Regions from separate parts of the Homo sapiens genome. Here region 1 is linked to region 2. Evidence: promoter capture Hi-C in human tissues and cell types (Jung and others, 2019). All regions are on one chromosome and are shown on one strand. The core of a region is centred on a gene start or on the middle of the fragment in contact, and the rest is flanking DNA. Distances in the headings are between cores, read along the strand shown. Region 1 has its middle 3.6 kb from the start of RBM25. Region 2 holds the start of PNMA1 (PNMA family member 1).

Region 1 (2,979 bases), core at 43-2,542, 660 kb before region 2:
ATTGCCCGGTCAATTTTTTTTTTTGACTAAGTCTCGCTGTGTCACCCAGGGTGGAGTGCAGTGGTGCCATCTTGGCTCACTGCAACCTCCGCCTCCTGGGTTCAGGCAATTCTCCTGCCTCAGCCTCCCAAATAGCTGGGACTACAGGTGAGTGCCACCACACCTGGCTAAGTTTTGTATTTTTAGTAGAGACAGGGTTTCTCCATGTTGGTCAGGCTGGTTTCAAACTCCTGATCTCAGGTGATCCACCCGCCTCAGCCTCCCAGAGCGCTGGGATTACAGGCGTGAGCCATCATGCCTGGCCTGCATTTTTAAATTTTAAGCTCACATTTGATATCAGAATCCTGAAGCCTAAATTAGGGATTCTTTTCTCCATGGGAACTATGTTTGCTTCTGTCAAGAGCCTAGGACTATTACTAACAAGGGAGCACTTTAACATCCTTTCAGAGTCCTGACTTAACTTGGTAAACTTCAGTTACTCCACCTTGCTGGGTAGTCCAGCCTTGATCTCTAGATTCTGTGTTAATGTGCTTCCTCTCTCTATCTTCTTCTCTCTATATACACATATATATTATATATATTCACATATATTATATATATAATGGCATTATATGTATTATATTTATATATTTTATGCCATTATATACTATATAATGGCATTGTATATATATATATATTTATGTATGTATATGTATTTATGTGTGTGTATATATATATATATATATATATATATATATATATAATGATGGCCATGCATACACACGCAAACACACACACACACACAAGCAATCCTCTCTCCTCATGATTGAGACTACAGGTGTGTGCTACTGTGCTGGGCTCCAGTTTCAATTTTTGAGAAGATCTGCTCAGTTCCAGCTAAACAACATTTTTCCTGGTATGCTGCTGTTTAGTTGGGTCAGATGTGGCCAATGAGAATAGGGTCCAGGCCAGGTGTGGTGGCTCATGCCTGTAATCCCAGCATTTTGGGAGGCTGTGGCAGGTGGATCACCTGAGGTCGGGAGTTGGAGACCGGCCTGGCTAACATGGAGAAACCCCACCTCTACTAAAAATACAAAATTAGCTCGGCATGGTGGCATGTGCCTGTAATCCCAGCTACTTGGGAAGCTATGCCAGGAGAATCGCTTGAACCTGGGAGGCGGAAGTTGCGGTGAGCCGAGATCATGCCATTGCATTCCAGCCTGGGCAATGAGAACAAAACTCCATCTCAAAAAAAAAAAAAAGAAAAAAAAAAGAATGGTGTCCAAATGCACACAGAATGTAATATCCAAATTAATTATCTACAGTTTCCTTAGCAAGGATTTGTAAGAAAAAAATAGAAGGAGGATAACTGGCATCGCAAATGAATGGCTTGGCTTGTTCTCTACAAGTGGTATATAAGTGTATCATTTAGAGTTCTTTCTGTGTAAGGAATAGAAAACTCAACTCAAACTGATTTCGGAAAAGTAATGTATTGGGTTACATACTGATAAGCCTAGAACAGCTGGCTTTAGGAGTAGCTGAGCCAGCCGGGCTCAGTGTAATCCTGGCTTTTGGGAGGCTGAGGTGGGAGAATCGCTGGAGCCTGGAAAGTTGAGGCTGCAGTGAGCCGTGATCATGCCACTGCACTCTAGCCGGGACAACAAAGGGAGACCCTATCTCAAATAACAACAGCAATAACAAACCAAAAAACAAACAAAATGAATGAATGAACCATTTTCTCAACTGATATTGTCAAAAATCTCTCACCCTGTCTTACTTCTGCTTTCTTCTGTGATTTCATTCTCATCCCCATCTATTCTAAGCTTAAATCCTCCTAAGCTTAAATTGAAAAAAAAAAATCAATTTAAATGAAAAATATAGAGACCCCTCCCCTTCTTTTTAGGATTATTCCTGAAAGGATGAAGCAGTATAATGTTCCAGAGCACGAACTCAGGAACCAGACTGGCTCACTTACTATTTTTGTAGCCTTTGATAGGTTAATTTTTGCAAGCCTTGGTTTCTTCATTTGTATCACAATAGTTCTTACTTCAGGGGGTTGTTATGAGGATTAAAGGAGTTGATATTTGCAAAATGCTTTAAACAGTGGCTAGTACCAAAAAAAAAAAAAAAAAAAAAAGGGAGGGGTGACTAAATCATCAGGTTTTGATTAGGTTGTAAGTTTACTCCTGTGTCCTAAGGGGGTCTGGTTAGAGTTGGGACTTCCTATCCAAAGTACATGGATCTGGAGTAGTGGAAGGATGGTTTCTTTTCTTTTTTTTTTTTTTAGACCGAGTTTTGCTCTTGTTGTCCAGGCTGGAGTGCAATGGCGCGATCTCGGCTCACTGCAACCTCTGCCTGCTGGGTTCAAGCGATTTTCCTGCCTCAGCCTCCTGAGCTGCTGGGATTACAGGTGCCTGCCACCACGCCCAGCTAATTTTTGTTATTTTTAGTAGAGACAGGGTTTCGCCATGTTGGCCAGGCTGGTCTCGAACTCCTGACCTCAGGTGATCCACCCGCCTCGGCCTCCTGAAGTGCTGGGATTACAGGTGTGAGCCACTGCACCTGGCTTTTTTTAGACAGAGTCTTGCTCTGTTGCCCAGGCTGGAGTGCAGTGGCGCAATCTCGCCTCACTGCAACCTCTGCCTCCCAGGTTCAAGCGATTCTCCTGCCTTGGCCTCCCAAGTAACTGGGACTACAGGCACACATCACCAAGCCCAGCTAATTTTTGTATTTTTAGTAGAGGCGGGGTTTCACCATGTTGGTCAGGCTGGTCTTGATCTCTTGACCTCGTGATCTGCCTGCCTCGGCCTCCCAAAGTGCTGGGATTACAGGCGTGAGCCACCGCACCCGGCCAAGATGGTTTCTTTTAAAAAATGTGGAGGGTTCATTACTAAAGGCAAGGGGAATGGATGCTGCATGAACATCAGCAACAAATTGTCTAAGGTAGGAAAGTTAGCAAATTGTTGCCTGAGGGCTCCCTTTATTACACAGTAAACACAA
Region 2 (3,167 bases), core at 668-3,167:
AAACAGAACAAGGCTAAGCCTTTACTACTCAGAGACACATCTGTAAGACCCCACAGGGACAAGAAAAGTAGCTGTGATCTAGGTCTGCACTAAAGCTGCCTTTCCTGGCACTCAGAAGTGCCCTTCCAGGCCTAACTGCAGAAGGGTGGCCTCAGCCTCCTCCTCCTCCTCCTTGGCTTCCTCCTCACGGATCTGCACCAGCAACTGAAAGAGGTTTGGGGCTGGCCCTTCCCCAGCCCCGGTAAGCCACAGCTGCCTTCGGATGGCCCCGCTGTGGTTGGCCCCGGCAATGACCTGCTCTAGGCGGGCCTGGTTCACATTATCTTTATCAATGGCCCCCTTCTCTACCACCTTCTGTAGCAGAGGCTCCAGACGAATGACATAAGCAGACAATTTTTCTCCCGGGTTCTGATAAGTGTTCAGAAATTTGATCTGGGCATCCCTAGAGCTCTCAACGCTCCCAAACACCTGCTCAAGCGCCTTCAGGCATTCGGCAGTGGTTATCGCGGGGTTGTTGGACTTAAGGATGCGAATAACATCAGCGGCGGGGCCTCTAAGACTCTCCATCAACCGCCGCCTCTTTTCTACATCGGACACCTGCCACTCCTCTAGGACCTCATTAGTGTGCTCCAGCCAGGGATCAAAGGTTTCCTCTCCAGGCCCTGGGATGTCCCTCCCCGAGAAAAGTGTCAGCCTCTTGTACCATATGGACTCAACAAGAGGCTGAATAACATTATCCAAAATATAGTTTAGCATCTCTGCTGGCATCTCTGGGCCCGGGGTCGGAGTAGGGTTCTGAAACCCAAGGACACGGGCAACATCTTGCACGGTCCACCCCTCTCTAGCTAGGAAGAGGTGCAATCTTTCTAAAAATTCAGCATCAGAAGTTGGGGGCTTAAATAACACTTTCCAGACCCCTCCTTTGCCCGGCATCTCCCTGGGGATCGCGGCGTAATCTACAGCGCCAGTGAGCTCTAATAAGGCTGCTTTCGCATTTTCTTCCCTCCAGAACATTCTCCCAAGCATTCGGTAGGAGACCTGGGGCATCGCAGCCTGGAGGGTCTCTTCGATTTCAGCCTCATCACAGTTCACTGGGATGCCCCAGACTAACAGAGCTCTCTGGGAGTTCACATCCATCCCCCGGCACCAGTCTTCCAACAGTGTCATCGCCATTTTCTCAACTATCAAGACGCCAAATTCTACCAACAGACTGTGGCTCACCGTGCTCCTGGCCTTAGAACAATACCAGACACTCCCACCAAGTAGGCCCGAGGGAGGCGACCTTCATGCAGTCACGATTAACAAAGACAGAGTCCTGATCTCGCCCTTCTCTGCCCCCACAGTCAGTCCGTAGGTGCACTCGGAGCCGAGCTCGGGGACGCTGAGGCAGTCACGCGGCCGTCGCCATCTTGCGTCTGGGTCTGGGTCCGGTCGGGTCCGCCGCCTGCAGCAGGGGCGTCGCGTCGTCGTGCAGCGGGCGAGGAGCGACGGCGGGCGGCGAAGGCAGGCGCGCTGGGCCGAGAGCCGCCGGGGTGTGGTCGCGGGGCGTGGCCGCCGGGCGCTCGCTGCGGCTCCTGGAGAGGATCGGGCGTTCGCGGTCGCAGCCTGGTCTTCCCGCGGGCGAGGAGCGGCCGTTTGGGAGACTAGCCAGAGGGAGAAACTGTGCCGAAGTCGCGGCGGCTGCGGGCCAGCGGAAAGCGGCTTCTTGGCGGGCGCGGGGACTCCTCTGGGCGGGCGGCGAGGACGGCCGAGGACCAGAAACGAAGGCAGCAGAGGAGCAGGAAAGTCGGAGAAGCGAGGCTGGAGACAGCAGAGGCGAGGGTGGGAAGGGGCGGCCGCGGCGGCCCGCAGCGGTTCAGGCGCTGCGCGGCTGCTCTGGCGTCCAGTCCTACCCGCAACCCGCCGCGACGTTACTGCTGCAGTGGAGGATGGGGCCAGCCGGCGAGCGGCGTCCGCCCCGCCCCGCCCCGTCCCGCCCCCGCGGCGGAGCTGCTCGGGCGTCTCCATGGCAACGGTGTCCCAGCCGGCGCGAGGCACGCCTGCTCCGGCGGCTCGCGGGGGTCGAGCGGTTGCCGTGGAGCCAGCGAGGGGCTCGGGCATTTGTTTCTCTGATGGCGCATTTCCTTTTTCATAATTTAGCATTTTAACAGTAAACAACTACTACTAAGCACCGTGTTTTAAAAATAATAACCCAATCCTGGAGTGGATTTAAGATGATATTGTTGGAAATGCATCCCTCATGGTGGACTTGTCTACTCGGGTTGCTCAGCCAGTCCACCCTGCACGTGAAAATACTCTCCTCAGAACCCTGGCTTCCCGTTGCCCCTGACCACACTGTGCACCCTGCATATTTCATCCCAATGAAGCCAAAATGTCGGAGTGCGCCATTTCTGTGTATTTGTGTGAGACACTGAGTTTAGACTTTTTCTTGTCTAAAATTTTGTAAAAATCTGTCTGTGTCTACTGAGTCATCTTTTAGCCAGGCAAACATTAGTGTATTATTTTCCTTTTCCTGGCTGGCATCATTGACAATAGGCTGCTAAAAGAGAATCCTTATGGTTCAAAAATGTCGAGTAATCTCCCTGCAAGCAAGACAAGGCGCACTTACATCAACCCCAGATGGTGAAAATCCCAAGAGAACAAAGCATTCAACTCTGAATTTTTAAAACCTTATTTAATAAAAGGTTTAAAGATACAGAAGAACATTCAAAAGTAAATAAGTTACATAGGTACATTACAATCACATCAGCAAGATTCTTTAGTGTATTAATTTTTTTCTTATAAAAAGCACACAAAAAATAAAATCTTCAGTCTCTATCACAACTGTACAGCAAAAGAGGTAATATTTATATATGTACACTATTTTAATATGTAACAGTCTTTTTAAAAAAGGATGCCACAGGCAGCAAACACACAAAAGGCAGTGTCTGATCATTTTTGTTTCAAAATAAAAGGAATATACTTATTTATATGCTATTAAAATATCTGTACAATAATTACAGACTGTCAAGGCTGTTCCTGTGCTCTGTCCCCTCCAACAAAGCCTTCAACTTAGAGACAAATGAGGAAAAAGTGAAACAGCTGCAAATTGTTAGAAGCAAATATTAACATAGCAAAATGTGGGGAGGACACAATTGTTTTATAAAAATATCCCTACTTCCTGTAAA

The links. Contacts are between HindIII fragments. The study calls those that stand out against the background at their distance.
Region 1: a contact is called between a fragment that was not itself captured here and the fragment with the promoter of PNMA1 in region 2, in 1 of the 25 tissues and cell types used here (dorsolateral prefrontal cortex).

What each region holds. Positions count from the first base shown.
Region 1 is chr14:73,053,458-73,056,436 of GRCh38, forward strand. No RefSeq gene overlaps it. Among named protein-coding and RNA genes, the nearest start is that of RBM25, 3.6 kb to the right of the region's middle. The HindIII fragment of the contact is 3,860 bases long and covers 1-2,979 here.
Region 2 is chr14:73,712,467-73,715,633 of GRCh38, forward strand. PNMA1 (PNMA family member 1) reads right to left here and starts at 1,918. Exons shown (of 1, transcript NM_006029.5): 1 at 1-1,918. The coding sequence starts at 1,173. The coding sequence ends at 112. MIDEAS (mitotic deacetylase associated SANT domain protein) reads right to left here. Exons shown (of 13, transcript NM_001367710.1): 13 at 2,656-3,167. RefSeq lists enhancers at 1,314-1,373, 2,314-2,383 and silencers at 1,464-1,633, 1,814-2,093. The HindIII fragment of the contact is 17,175 bases long and covers 1,550-3,167 here.